Linked DNA regions of Homo sapiens: regions 2, 3 and 4 are each linked to region 1. Evidence: promoter capture Hi-C in 16 types of primary human blood cells and fetal thymus (Javierre and others, 2016). All regions are on one chromosome and are shown on one strand. The core of a region is centred on a gene start or on the middle of the fragment in contact, and the rest is flanking DNA. Distances in the headings are between cores, read along the strand shown.

The links. The method cuts DNA at HindIII sites, captures the fragments that hold promoters and counts their contacts. A CHiCAGO score of 5 or more calls a contact.
Region 2: a contact is called between the fragment with the promoter of EVX2 here and the fragment with the promoter of DLX2 in region 1, in 2 of 17 cell types (total B cells and naive B cells). The highest score is 35.4, in total B cells.
Region 3: a contact is called between the fragment with the promoter of HOXD8 here and the fragment with the promoter of DLX2 in region 1, in 4 of 17 cell types (total B cells, naive B cells, naive CD8 T cells and 1 more). The highest score is 26.1, in total B cells.
Region 4: the fragment with the promoter of HOXD11 here is called in contact with the fragment with the promoter of DLX2 in region 1 in 7 of 17 cell types (total B cells, naive B cells, total CD4 T cells and 4 more); the score reaches 126.0 in total B cells.

What each region holds. Positions count from the first base shown.
Region 1 is chr2:172,100,784-172,104,371 of GRCh38, forward strand. It overlaps DLX2 (distal-less homeobox 2), which reads right to left and starts at 2,117. Exons shown (of 3, transcript NM_004405.4): 1 at 1,356-2,117; 2 at 679-863; 3 at 1-161. The coding sequence starts at 1,755. It overlaps DLX2-DT (DLX2 divergent transcript), which reads left to right and starts at 2,223. Exons shown (of 5, transcript NR_126376.1): 1 at 2,223-2,485; 2 at 3,155-3,249. RefSeq lists a silencer at 1,919-2,118. The HindIII fragment of the contact is 7,057 bases long and covers 533-3,588 here.
Region 2 is chr2:176,082,500-176,085,822 of GRCh38, forward strand. EVX2 (even-skipped homeobox 2) reads right to left here and starts at 1,463. Exons shown (of 3, transcript NM_001080458.2): 1 at 851-1,463. The coding sequence starts at 1,277. RefSeq lists enhancers at 222-837, 3,288-3,323. The HindIII fragment of the contact is 15,744 bases long and covers 1-3,323 here.
Region 3 is chr2:176,128,112-176,131,599 of GRCh38, forward strand. HOXD8 (homeobox D8) reads left to right here and starts at 1,594. Exons shown (of 2, transcript NM_019558.4): 1 at 1,594-2,832; 2 at 3,206-3,488. The coding sequence starts at 2,256. It overlaps LOC100129455 (a long non-coding RNA gene), which reads right to left and starts at 2,417. Exons shown (of 1, transcript NR_187615.1): 1 at 1-2,417. The HindIII fragment of the contact is 7,912 bases long and covers 1-3,488 here.
Region 4 is chr2:176,105,281-176,108,822 of GRCh38, forward strand. It overlaps HOXD11 (homeobox D11), which reads left to right and starts at 2,000. Exons shown (of 2, transcript NM_021192.3): 1 at 2,000-2,856. The coding sequence starts at 2,076. The HindIII fragment of the contact is 7,005 bases long and covers 1-3,542 here.

The sequences.
Region 1 (3,588 bases), core at 867-3,366:
ATCCGCTGCGGCACACCAAAGTCCCAGGAGGCCGGCGCTGAGACTGGCGGCGAAGCACAAGGTGGAGAAGCGCTGGCCCCAGGGTGCTGCTCCGAGGGGATCTCACCACTTTTCCACATCTTCTTGAACTTGGACCGGCGGTTCTGGAACCAGATTTTGACCTTTGAGGAAAAAGACCTGAGCATTAGTGGAGGAACCTAGTCTTGGGGCAGTAGGGGTTCGAAGAGGAGAAAAAAGAAGGCAGAGAAAAACCGCTGGCTAGCGGTGGGCAGCGAGCGCCCTGGGGAGATAAGAGGATCACGGGCGGCGGCCTTCGAGGCTCTGCCGGTTCCTGCTCCCTGGGGAGGTAATTGCCAAAAGGCCAGGACTGCTGGTGTACGTGCACTGTGATGATGGTGACAGCGGGAGGGTGAGGAGGGCCAGTTATTTCACCCGCTTAATCAGTAGCGAGAGGTACGGGATTTCTGTCCACCCGGTCCCTTTCCTTCCCTCCCACGGCGGCCCCTTGGGGGTTTCCAGCTTTGGGCCTAGAAGCTTACTTAGGGCCGCTCGAGGCGCAGGCCTGGAAATCCTTAAAAGTACTTAAAATGAACTTTAAAAAGCATTGTCCTAAACCCGCCTGCTTCCCAGCCATCTCAGGCCCGCGCTCTCCTCGCCCCTGCAGGGCGCGAGCCCCACCTGAGTCTGGGTGAGGCCCAGAGAGGCCGCCAGCTCGGCTCGCTCCGGCAAGGCCAAGTATTGAGTCTTTTGGAAACGCCGCTGAAGAGCCGCCAGCTGGAAACTGGAGTAGATGGTGCGGGGTTTCCGGACTTTCTTTGGCTTCCCGTTCACTATCCGAATTTCAGGCTCAAGGTCCTCCTTCTCTGCAACGATAAAGAATCGTAAGAACAGCGCAACCCAGGGGTCCTGGAGTTCCCGCCCTCCTAGAGGGCCCGGCGGGGGGGACTTGGCTTGAGCAAAGAGGTGGGTGCACTGAACTGTGGCGCCACGGGCAGGCGCAACTTCGCAGCGTGCGATCGGAGCCGCCACCGACCCCGGGAGCTGTACCCTCCAGGGAAGGGGGAGACAAGTGCACACCCAAGAGAAAGAAGCTGGTGGCAAGGAGATGCCCTTATGAGGCAGGCAGAGCACGCCCACTTGGCTCTTGAGGCCACCAGGTCCTACCAAAGGAGAGAGGGACGTAACCGGCGACCTGCGGCAGATTGGAGGCTGGGGAGGGTAAAGGGCACAAGCGGGCGGTGAGCAGGCAGCGTGAAAATCCAGAGCTTTCGAAGGCCCCCCGCCCCAAACACGTTTACCCATCCATCCCATTAACTAGACCGACTCGGCACTCTTGACTTCAGCGTTATGCATACCAGGCTCGTTGTTGGCTGGGGACGAACTGGTTCCATAGGGAGCGTAGGAGGTGTAGGCGGCGGTGTAGCCCAGGTCATAGCTGCTCTTGGCGGAGTAAGGGACGTTGTTGAGGCCGCTGGCTTGGTACTGGTAGGAACCCATGTGCGCGTAGGGCGAGCCCCCGCCGCCGCCGCCGCCCGCCGGGTGCTGCTGGTTGGTGTAGTAGCTGCTGTCGGTGGCGGTGGACACCGGAAGGGTGGGCGACTCCTGGGGCTTGTGGAGGCTGCTGCTGCTGCTGCTGTTGCCACCCGGGCCGGCGCCGCCGCCGCTCGGGGGCTGCTGGTGCTGGTGGTACGTGCTGGAGGCGGCGATCTGGGTCGAGTGCATATCAGCCACTAGACTGTCAAAGACTCCAGTCATCCTGGCCCGAGACGGGAAAGAGCAGAGGTGGCGGGCGTGCGGGGGAAGCCAGGCGCCTCCTCTGTCTCTCCCGGTCCCCTCCAGCAGCCAATGTAATTACGGGGGTGGTGGTGGGGAAACAAGAAAGGAGGCAACCGTCTAGGCGCCTCCTCCTCCGGGGGAGGCGATCACCGTGCGCTGCTCGGGACAGCTGCCTCTGGTCGCATCCTCTTTCGGCCTCTGGGCCCGCTCGGCTCCTTGCCCAGCGCGAGCGCGGGCTCTGGCGGGGGGCGGGCAGTGGAGGGGGCAGGGGTGGCTGGGCCGGGTCGGGGCTCTGGGAGGCGGGAGCAGGTGAGCGGCCCCGAGCGGCTTTACGATTGTCTGCCAGGCGGGCTCCTGAAGTGTGGGCATTTAACACTCGTCACGTGAGCGCTGGCGACGTCACCTAGCAACAGCCAATCAGAAGCAAACGGCCGCGGAGCTCCGGGAACGCCCGGCCAAGGGGCGGGCGTCACATGGTGGGCGCTGTGGCTGCGGCTGCGGCTGCAGCGGCCCCAGGTGCAAACAGACTGCCGCCGAATGTGAGCAGCGAGGCGAGGGGTCGAGGTAGCGAGGAGTCAGGGTGGCCCGCAGCAGGAAGACAGAAGGCGTGGAGACAGACTGGCGTTTTGCCTCAGAGGAAGAAGTGGGGTCCCCTCTCCCATTCTGTGAGCAAGTGCCAGTTCCAGTGATTCGTACTTTCATGTCCGAGGTCAGTTTTCAAACACATTAAAGTACATCGGTGCCCAGAGTCCAGCCAGCTCTATCTTCACTTTTCCTCGAAGTGTCTGGCATTTATTCTTGTTAGCCACTCGGCACTTGACATAATCAATTGATTTAATTATCCACAAACCACGTGTAATGCTCGCTTCTTAACCAATCCGCAGGGATATTAGGACAATTAATCATATAATATTGAAACGGGTTTTCCTTGTTGCTTCAAAGAGAAGCTACATAAACTTAAAGGTATTATTGCTAATAGTATATTTGAAACCACTTTCCCTGGTACTTTCCCGACACGCGAGACTCTGAGTAATTATATACGTTTGATAAGTAAATGACACCCTGAAAGCCATCCCGAGGACTTCCTCCTTCGGGTGGAAAGGTTCACCAGTTGTCCTTGAAAATTCGATGCTCTTGCGAAAAAGGAAATAGGATAATAGGTGAGATTATAGATTTATCAAGTAGATACTAGATTTATCACTTCTCTGTAAATTTACAACAAATATAAAAAGTTTTATCTGGTTTGTTGAATTTAATCCTGTTTTACAGTTTTGCATTTTAGGACCCTGTTCTACCCTATCATTGCAATTTTTTTCTTTTCCCTCTGTTTTTTAAAAAATCGGAAATGGTGACTTCCTCTGTCTCTATAACCTTGTAGTTGGAAACCTTGGCCCGACGGTGATGGACTGCACGACTTGCTGGACTCCCAAGTCCGAAGTTCCTGCGGCAGCGCTTGCTTTGTGGCGCCACCTGGTGGGCAGTGTGCGAGGTTGCGGGGGGCGGGGTAGACGGTCTAATCACGCCCAGGCGCCAGCCTCTGAAACCCCCCAAAAGAACAAAATAGTAATTAAAAGCCACAAAATTGTGCTAGTGCGCACCATCTGAAGCACCCTTTCCTAAAGACATAACATGTCGCTGAAAGAACTTGTTAAAACAACTGTCTGATAGAAAACAAGTTGATACCTTCAAAAATATGATCTTTGGTCTTCTTCCCCATAAAAAGCAAGTGTGTAATTAAAACTCCAGCATTCACACAGAGAAATAATGAGATAGGTAATGCGCCTTTAAGTCTACCTGGATTTAGTTCCCAGC
Region 2 (3,323 bases), core at 213-2,712, 4.0 Mb after region 1:
CGGCGCTGGCGCTGCGCGCGGATCGGGGAAGCCCCGTCAGGAAGGAGAGTCGCTGCCGGAATTGATGGGGTCTGTCATGCTTACAAATTGCTGCCGTTAATGGAATCAATAAAGTTTGGGGAGCCCTTCATAAGCAAATAATAGAAACGGAATTAGGAGATTTCTTTTTTAATAATTAGAAATTTTCAACCAAGGAGGAAAAGTGGCCGAGGGAAAATGCCTACCTCTGGGCGCAGTTTGGGAAGCTCTGGGTTTCCCATGGTCTGGAGACCGCAGGGCAGCTTTTTATACGGCCTCTAACCTTTATCTGAGTCTTCGGGGTTTCAAATATTTTAAGAGTTCCAACACAGCAGTAGCTCAAACCCAAGCCAATAGGGGGTGAAATATACTTTTCAACTCTTTCTCCCGCTGACCTAAACAGAGACGCCGGCGAGGCTTCCTCCGACTTACCCAGAAGAATGCCCCCTCCAGCCCTGAGGGCACAGGGGCAGGGGAGTTCAGAGTAGTTGCCCAGGGTACCTTTCCCAAAAGCAACTCGGCTGCTGACTAGGGGTCTACCGGCTCGCTCGGGCTCTTAGACACGAGCGCAGAAACATTTTCTCGGACTCAGGAGCGAGGGCGGGTGGGCCTGGTGTTCCAGGCTCCGCAGGCCTGAGCCTGGCGGGAAAGCTCAAGGAGCAGAACTGGAAGGCACGGTCCCAGACATGCGTCCCGCCCCCGCCCGTGCTAGCTCGGTGTAGCTTGCCTGTGGAGGGTCTGAGAGGGGAAAAGGCACCGGGAAAGGCTGGCGGGGGCCGCGGAGGAGCAAAGAGGATGGGACTGGAGAGCGCGGTGCGGCCGGCGCGGTTACCTTTGCCATTGTTTTCCTTAAGCTGAGCGGCGCCGAGGCCCCCGGGGGAGCGAAGCGCGGAGCAGCCCACCTCCACGTCGCTGCTCATGTCGGCCTCAGCGGCCGCCTCTGAATAATGGCCCGGCTTCTTGCGGCTCTCGGCGGCGGAGGAGATTTCGGAGGAGACGGTGCTTTCGCTGCCCGTGTGCTGCAGGTTGAACAAAGTGTCTATTTCGAATTTGCCCTTGGCGGGGAGTTCTCCCAGAGCGCTGTGCAGGGGGGCAGACGGCAGGCGCGGGCTTAGGCGAGCCGGGTGCTGCGAATTTTCCAGGGCCTCGAGCACAGCATTGCCAGCCGAGTTGGACAAATTGGAGAATCTCTTGCCCGCCGTAGGGCTGTGCAGCCCTCTCTCCATCAGAATCATCTCTTTTCTTATTCTTTCCATCATCTCAGCTTTCTTAAAAATGTCACAGTGGCCCTGCTGTCCCGTCCTAATGATAGGCTGCGCCTAGGGCTAATTCTCATTCAGCCCCAGCGAACGCCTCTAAATATTATTATCGCTTTCGGAGGGAGGCGGAAAAATTGTGGGATGCCAGAGCGAGGGAATGACTGGTCAAAATGACCCATACATCCTTCCGATCCCGAGATGTCATTCATCAAAAAGTAGCGCCCGCTCGTCATTAAGGTACGAATGACGCTGTTCGAATAATCATTTATTGTAACAGGTTTATAAGCAAATAAATACACCCTCCTGTCAGTGGGTAATGAAGGCAGCTTCAGAGCAGACAAATAGATCCAGGTAGGAGGCGAGAAGAGACAAGTGAGGAGGAAGGCTCCGGTCCTTTGCCCGCTCCGAGCCAGTTCTGCTCGCCCGGGGGTTTGGCCTCGGGGGTGAAATTGACAGTCTGATTAATAGAGCGCGCCGCGGCACATTTCCCCCTTCATTTAGGGGCATCATTACGCTCTCAGTTTGCTAGGTTGCCCCTTAGGTCCTAATCATGCAGCGCCTTCTTCATTTTTCCTTGGACACAGATACGTATTAAATAATAGATAATGGTTTGACTTTCCAGAGTAGGTCCTCGGGAAGGTTTGGTTTTTTTTTTTTTTTTTTTTTTTTTTTTTACCATTTACAAGCTGGGGGCATAAGTGGGGGGAGATAAGGGGGAGGATGCAGGAAGAGTTGCGTAAGGAGAAGACCTTGCGCCTCTCCTATCTGGATTACTTATCTTTCGGATTTCGGAACCAAATATGTATTTTATTTAACAAATAGGACGCCGGAGTTCTTTCCCTCCCTATTTCTTCACCTCAGCCTAAATGCTCTCCTCCCACCCCGGGAGAGAGAGAGAGCGGAAGAGAGGGAGAGAGGGAGAGAGGGAGAAAGGGAGAGGGAGACGGAGTGAGAGAAAGAGAGAGAGAGAGAGAGAGAGAAATAGAAATATCCTAGAGTTTTGAAAGCGCTTTCTTGCTACGTGGCCGCGGAGGTGCATTGGGCCCGCGCCTCCAAACGGAAATCATTAGGTCCTCTCTGATTTTCTAACACCGTCTGCAGAGTGAGATCTGAACTCGAAGTCCCCGGTTTTTTACTTTTATAATCCTGCTGATAGAAAGCCTTCTCGCCTACGCATTTTCCTGAGGGGAAACGAACTAGGCTGGACGATTTGATAGCAGAATTCGACAGCTAACTTTAAACACAGTGGAGATTTACAGCGCCATACGGGCGCTCCGAATCCACGCTCACGTTGCCAGATTTTCCCCTCCCTCCTCAAATAGAATTATTTGCGGCAAAGGCGCTGGATTTCGAGGTCAAAAGAGGAAAGAGGAGACAGCCTTCTTCCCCTACCTCCCCGCTGCCCTCCCTTCCCCTTTGCTTTTCTTCCTTCTCTCTTTCCTCCCCTCATCAACCCCAGCCCCTTACCTGCGGCCACAGGTATTCCCAGCGTTGGGTCCGGGCGCAGAGAGTCGCCGAACAGCCTTACAGCAGCTCTCTGCGGCCTGGGCTTGGAGGCTGAGCCTCTTGGCGACAACTTTGATAGTCATAATGACGCCGGTGGCAACCATTTTAACGAAGATCAATCTTCACTCCAGGCCGCTCCTCATCTCCCGCGGTTGCGCCCACCCTTCCCTGACCCTCCAAGCACTGTGCCCACCCGCCAACGGCCCAGCCGGAGAGAGATTCGCGGACACAGGCGGAGGCGAGGGAGGACGGGGATGGGACGCGGAGGTCCGCCCGTGAGCTTCTGAAGCGGCTGAGAGACCCTGACAATCTGGGCGCTGGGCGCGGGTCCTGCATCCCCACATTTAGCCTCAATCCGAACCCCAACCAGGGCCCCCTCTTCTTTCTGCCGACACACCCAGAACATTGGGGTGTGTTAGGGGGCAAGCTCGAGATCTATTCGCCTATAGCTCTTGGCGCTTTCCTTTTAACCTTAGACCCGTTGGGGGCGCATCAGGAATGTAAGGGGAAGCGAGGTGTGAAGTATATTTATATACATAT
Region 3 (3,488 bases), core at 344-2,843, 4.0 Mb after region 1:
ACCTTTCAGTCATTCCCAGTAGAAATAATTGAGTCGGACATTATCACCTTGCTATGTCTGTCCATCTCGATCTCATTTTCTCCATTTGTAAAAATGATATTTCAGTCCACCCGGACACAAGTCAGGATCGCGCTCGCAGGCTGGGCCAACCCACAAGGAGCTAGGGGTAGCTGAAATCGCTCGCCAGCCTGCAGCATCTCTGAGGCCGTCTGGGGTTTTCGGAAATTTGCATTTGGTGTGGAAAGCCGGCGTGGTGCGTTTAGCTTGAGCAGGGGCGCCTTGGAGGTCTATTTCCAAGGCTGTGGGCCTGGCGCCCTCACGACATTGTACCTATCCCGAAGGAAACGGGGCTCAGTCACCCAAAGAGCCCACGAGAAAGGCCGAGCAGGAGAGGGGAAAACACACACACACAACAGAGAACCATTGCATTTATTGGACATTGAAACGGGAGCAGAGAGGGAAAGGAAGTGTGTGGGGAGGCGGTTGGTAGGGTAAAGCCAGACAGCTTTGGAGAGAGCTGCTAAAATCGGGAATATTTTGTCGATTCACACTCGACTGGGCCACATGACTCGGGCAACTTTTCTTCATCTCTGCTCACAAACTAGGCTGAGCCTTCTCTTTCTCTGCTTTGGGAAAAATTCGTAACTTTGAGGCCTGCGCGCTCTCTCGGCAGTAATTTCACAGGCTTGGCGGAGGAAGTAGGATCGTTAGCATAAGATGGGCCGCCTGCAGCTGCCTGGAACCGGCGCGATCTGAACGCCGGCTGGGAGGCTCCTGGGGGGAACTTGCGGTCGTCTGCCCTCCGCACTCCTCCGGGAACCGCAGCCGGCCCTGGTTCGCTGCGCGCCGGGGCTGAGACCCGGGAGCCGCGTCCTGCCCGAGGAAATGTCACCCTCCCCAGCGCGAGCCCTTTTTCCCGCCTCAGAACGTTTCTGTCCGCTCTTCTATTTACTCTCTCAGCAAGCCTAATGCCCCCTCCTGCATTCTTCAGCCTCCCCCTGCGCCCAGGGCTGACGTCTATCAAGGGTGAAATGATGGAAACTATATTCATGGGCATGATTTCCATTAAATATCAATTAACCTGAGAGCCTCGGCCAGGCTTGCGGTGCGTCAAGGGTAAATGTACATCTCATTTCCACAGGGCCCGCTCGGCTGGAAAAGAAAGGCTTTGATTTGCTTTGATAACGCCAGGATCTGGGGCCACACTCGCGGCTTTTAATTAAACCACTTCGATATGCCCCAACTCAAATGCACGGTCCGGTCCGTCAACACCTCTTGTCCACGTTCCCTGGGCTGCACCCGCGTGTCCAGAGCTGCAAAAGCCACGGGCAACCTCTGCTTTTGCAGCCAGGGGCTCGGGGAGGCAGTCATTTGCTCCGCAGCCTCCTGGGAGTGGCCTCCTTGGCTCCCCCAAGTCTAAGGCTCCGCCGCGGCCCCTCCCTGCCGGCTGCGATCCGCATTCCCGCGGCCCCGGGGCACACGGAGCCCTTGGCAGTGCGTCTTTATGGGCCCCCTTTAAGGCCGGCGGAGGCATCTCGGGCCGGGCGCGGCGCTCCGTCCGTCGGCCGTAGCGACTGAACTGCGCGCGGATCCCTCCGCGGGGCTCCTCGTCCCCGTCACGCTGACTTTCCGTGCAGTGCTGTGGTGCGAAAATGCCTCGCCGGTGCGCACCGGGTCGGCAGCCTCGGCGGCGGGGGCGAGATTGGCGGGAGGGGGGCGCGGGGGGGGCGCGGTAAGAGGTGGCGGCGGGCAGAGGGTGTTTTTTTTCTTTTCCCTCCAGAGCCGGGGTTTGTAAACCGAGGCCAGAGTGTCCCCGTGGGCCGAGCGCACTTTTTTCTTGTCCGGGTGCGCTCAGTCACTGGTGCCTGAGAGGAAACAGTGGAGGCAGCGGGGCAGGTCGCCTGGGGCGTCGGCGATTATATTGCGGCCGAGCCGGGGCGCGCCGGGAAAGGCCGGGAGGGCGGCGGCGCGCGGGGGCTGGGCGAGGCCCCGCGACCCGCGAGGGAGGCGGCGCGAAGCCGAGGCGGCGGGCGCAAGAGCCGGGCATGAGCGCCCAGTAGCTGAGCGCCCGCGGCTGCCTGGCCTCAGAAGCGACGCGCGAGCGCGGGCGGGCGGCAGCAGCGACGTAGCCCGGCGGTCCCGGCGGCGAGAGCAGCCGCCCCACAGGCCCCCGCGGCAGTGCGGCCGAGTCGAGGCTCGCTCTCTGGCTGCTTAGCGCCGCCCGCCCGCCCGGGGCCGCCGCCGCTGACGCCCCAATGAGTTCGTACTTCGTGAACCCGCTGTACTCCAAGTACAAGGCGGCGGCTGCGGCGGCGGCGGCGGCGGGCGAGGCCATCAATCCCACTTACTACGACTGTCACTTCGCGCCCGAGGTCGGCGGCCGTCACGCCGCCGCCGCAGCAGCCCTGCAGCTCTATGGCAACAGCGCCGCCGGCTTCCCGCACGCGCCCCCGCAGGCGCACGCGCACCCGCACCCGTCCCCGCCGCCCTCCGGGACTGGGTGCGGCGGTAGGGAAGGCCGGGGCCAGGAGTACTTCCACCCCGGCGGGGGCAGCCCGGCCGCTGCCTACCAGGCCGCCCCCCCTCCTCCTCCGCATCCTCCGCCTCCGCCGCCACCTCCCCCCTGCGGCGGGATTGCCTGTCACGGGGAGCCCGCGAAGTTTTACGGATACGATAACTTACAGAGACAGCCGATTTTTACGACCCAGCAAGAGGCCGAGCTGGTACAATATCCTGACTGTAAATCGTCCAGTGGTAATATTGGCGAGGACCCAGACCACTTAAATCAGAGCTCGTCTCCTTCTCAAATGTTTCCGTGGATGAGACCACAAGGTTGGGATGCATTTTTTTTTTAAGAAGGGAGAGGGGGAGAAATCTGCTTTCATCTCACGTTCTGGCTTTAAAACTCCCGTTCCCTCTCCCCCTCCTTTTCCTTCTTGTGTAGCCACAGTGGCTCTTATTCATAAAGTAATACAGACTTTTTTTAAAAAAGTAGGAACCATGTAAAGATGATGGGGACAGAATAATTGTGAAGACCTCTCTGCTCCTCTTGCCTGCACACCCTATATATATATATCGGAGCTAAAGAGCTCTGTGTATATTTCACCCCGTAGACCCCCGTTCCACAAACCTCCAGCAACATGCAGAGGTACCATAACATTTTTAAAACTTTTATTCCCCCCCCCTTTTTTTTTGTTTTAATCAGCAGCTCCTGGTAGACGAAGAGGAAGACAAACCTACAGTCGCTTCCAAACTCTAGAGTTGGAAAAGGAATTTCTTTTTAACCCCTATCTGACCAGGAAAAGAAGAATCGAGGTTTCCCACGCCCTAGCCCTCACCGAGAGACAGGTAAAAATCTGGTTCCAGAACAGGAGAATGAAATGGAAAAAGGAAAACAACAAGGACAAATTTCCCGTTTCCCGGCAGGAGGTGAAGGACGGGGAAACGAAAAAGGAAGCCCAAGAGCTGGAGGAAGACAGAGCCGAAGG
Region 4 (3,542 bases), core at 750-3,249, 4.0 Mb after region 1:
GAGGGAGCACACAAGATGGGCAGTTCTAGTTGGGGGAGGCTCGATGCCCTCCAGTCGCCACAGACCTATTTGCGCAGTGTTGGGGGAGGGAAGAAGACATGGGAAGGGGCGGAGGAAGGAGAGAGGAAGGGAGAAAGGGAGGGAGGAGAAAAAGAGGAAGGGGGGGTACATCAGCCAGAAAATAGATATTAGCTCAGACCACCCGCCTTTTCTCTGTCTGTCCGCACGGTGGGCAGAGCGCACAGCACCGGCACTGCAGCAGCCCGGGCCAGGGAGGGAACCAGCATCACAGCCAGCGCCGCCTGCCCTGGGTATAGGACTGAGGCCCAGGCCCCAGCGCTGGGATTGCCTGGGCGGAGGAATCTTGGGGAAAGGGGCAGCCTCCTGCCCTCGGTTCTGGGATTTGGGTTTGGGAAGAGACGGTTTACCTTTGAAAAGCGTCTGCTCACTCGGAGGTGGGATCCCAGGCCTTGCCTGGACCCATGGGCTAGGAGAGGGTCGCGGCAGGCTGGGAGGAGAGTGAGGCCTTGGGGGAGTGGATGGGGTGCCCCACGAAGAGTCTGCCTCAGAGCCAGGTGACACAGAGGGGCTCCAGGAGGGAGTCAGGCTCCGCTGAGAGCCCTTAGAGAGACAACCTATCTTGGGGGAGGGGCTGAAGTGACCATGCAGACCCAAGGGTACCAGAAGAGCCTCGGGGAAACGCGGCGTGGATTCGCAGGCCTTGGCGGGGCTCCGAAGCAGTGAAGGGTCTAGGTATAAGGCGGACACCCAGGCTAGGCCTGAAAGCAGAGGGGTGAGGAGGACGAAGGTGCGAGTGTGTGGGGGTTGTCTCTTGTGGGGAGCCAGCGGGAAGCCAAGCACCCTAAGAGTAGGACTCCAGATCCTTTTGTTCACCAGACTCCCCAGATTCTAGGGAGGCTGGGGACCACGGGCTGAGCCCCCTCCTGGCTTCAGTGCTGAAGGAGAAGGCAGAGAGGCAACGGGGAGAGAGACAGAGACAGTGACACACAGCTTAGAGGAAAGGAGGGGAGAGGATGAGAGGACAGAGAGAGAGAGGAGAAGGGAGACAGGAAAGCAAGAGGAAGGAAGAAGGAAAGCGGAAAAGAAGAGGAAGGAGAGAAGTGAAGACAGGAGAGAGAAGGGAGAAGACTGAAGAGAAACGAGGCAAGGAGAAAGAGAGACAAGAACAGAGAGGGAAACCAGAGAGAAGGGAAGAGAGCCGGGTGGGCACGAAGGCCCCGGCCTGGGTGAGTGCCTAGGTGGTGAATGGCCTGGGTTTTTCCGAGGCCAGCACTCGCACCCTTGGGGTCAGAACCGGAAAGAGCCAAGTCACTCCACTCTGAACGCGCTGGGCAGAAAAATATGTAAATCAGGGCTCCCTGCGCCCTGGAGAGTGGCGAAATTACTCCCGCCCGGTGAACAAGAAGCAACAAGCTCCCAGGCGGGTGAGCTGCAGAGGGTGGCAGAGTCGCGGGGGAGGGAGCGGCTGCAGTAAGGGGGGTGGGGTTCGGAACCTCACACCCTCACACCTAGTTCCTAGCTTCTAGGGAGCCTGGAGCCGGGGCTTCCCCCCCTCTGCTCGCTGCTTCTCTCCCTTCCCCCTTCCTCCCCCTCTTCCCCCTCCTTCCTCCTCCCCGCCGGCCTCGGTCCGCGTACTTAAAGCGGCGCGGGAGGGCGGACGCGGGCGGGCGGCCCGTTCGGGCGGTGGCAGATGCGCCCAGCGGTGACAGCGGCCAGCGGCGCGCAGGTGACCGGCCTGAGGCGCAGCCTGGTCAGGGAGCGCCCGGGGAGAGCTGGCGGCAGAGGGCAGCCGATCCGCCCCCAGCGCGCGCGTCTCGGCGCCAGGAGCCGTCCCGGGGCGTGTTGGCGAGCGTTGATATAGATATAAGGACATTTCTCTTCATGGCGTCACGTGACATAATTACCACCAGAATCAATCAAGATGAATTGCACGTCAGCGCCCGGTGGGGATTTTTGCTTAGTTGATCCTGGCCCAAGCCTCTTGTGCAATCGATGGCTCAGGTTGGCTGCGCGGGGAGCGGCCAGAGGCTCGCTGGCGCGCACGCCGCGGAGTCATGAACGACTTTGACGAGTGCGGCCAGAGCGCAGCCAGCATGTACCTGCCGGGCTGCGCCTACTATGTGGCCCCGTCTGACTTCGCTAGCAAGCCTTCGTTCCTTTCCCAACCGTCGTCCTGCCAGATGACTTTCCCCTACTCTTCCAACCTGGCTCCGCACGTCCAGCCCGTGCGCGAAGTGGCCTTCCGCGACTACGGCCTGGAGCGCGCCAAGTGGCCGTACCGCGGCGGCGGCGGCGGCGGCAGCGCGGGGGGCGGCAGCAGCGGGGGCGGCCCCGGCGGGGGCGGCGGCGGCGCGGGGGGCTACGCTCCCTACTACGCGGCGGCGGCGGCGGCGGCTGCGGCGGCCGCGGCGGCCGAGGAGGCGGCCATGCAACGCGAGCTTCTCCCGCCCGCGGGCCGCCGGCCGGACGTGCTCTTCAAGGCGCCTGAGCCGGTGTGCGCTGCGCCGGGGCCGCCGCACGGCCCCGCGGGCGCCGCCTCCAACTTCTACAGCGCGGTGGGCCGCAATGGCATCTTGCCACAGGGCTTCGACCAGTTCTACGAGGCAGCGCCCGGGCCCCCGTTCGCCGGGCCGCAGCCCCCGCCGCCACCCGCGCCGCCACAGCCCGAGGGCGCAGCCGACAAGGGCGACCCCAGGACCGGGGCTGGTGGCGGCGGGGGCAGTCCCTGCACCAAGGCGACCCCTGGCTCGGAGCCCAAGGGGGCAGCAGAAGGCAGCGGTGGCGACGGCGAGGGCCCCCCGGGAGAGGCGGGGGCCGAGAAGAGCAGCAGCGCAGGTAGGCACCGGGTACTGGGCAAGCGGTGGGCCCGGGGGCCGCGGGGGAGGGGGGGGGGGCGGAGGCCTCCCTCTGCTTGCGCCTTTTTATGTGCTACTTTATAAGCATTCGAAGAGGTTTATACATCCTATAAGATTTCCTGGGCCGTTGTAAAGTGTGTTTATGGTAGGAAACCAATTTAGGTGGGCTTAAGGTAGACTTCGAGGAGGACATTAATAGCTGTCGAGAGCCTTTTCCCAGTTTTGGGCAGGGGGTTGCTAGATACCATGGAGGGAGGGAGGGAGGGAGATTTCAAGCCAGTGTGAGTGCATACACCGGAGCCTCCTGCTTTTAAGGGAGAGAGGCGGGGGGTGGGGAAGTGGGGGGAGTTTGATCCTTGCACTGGACTTTATCCAAGCCGCTAGCTGACGCGCGCCGCTGGAGTCAAGCAGATGCCCCGGCGGGCCTGCTCTTGTCTCTGTTCCCTCAGGTTCCAGTTTAGAGCCTGCCTTGCCCTCTGCTTCCCCACCTCCGTGCCAGGCTCTGTGTGTGTGTGTGTGTGTGTGTGTGTGTGTGTGTGTGTCCGGGCGTGAACACATGTCCACGCCCGCACTCTCTCCTGTGCCCGCCCATATATCATCCCCCACGACGCAGGCAGGGCCTTTCGGCCGCGGCAGAGAACGTCCCCAACGGGGCCAGGGCCTGGC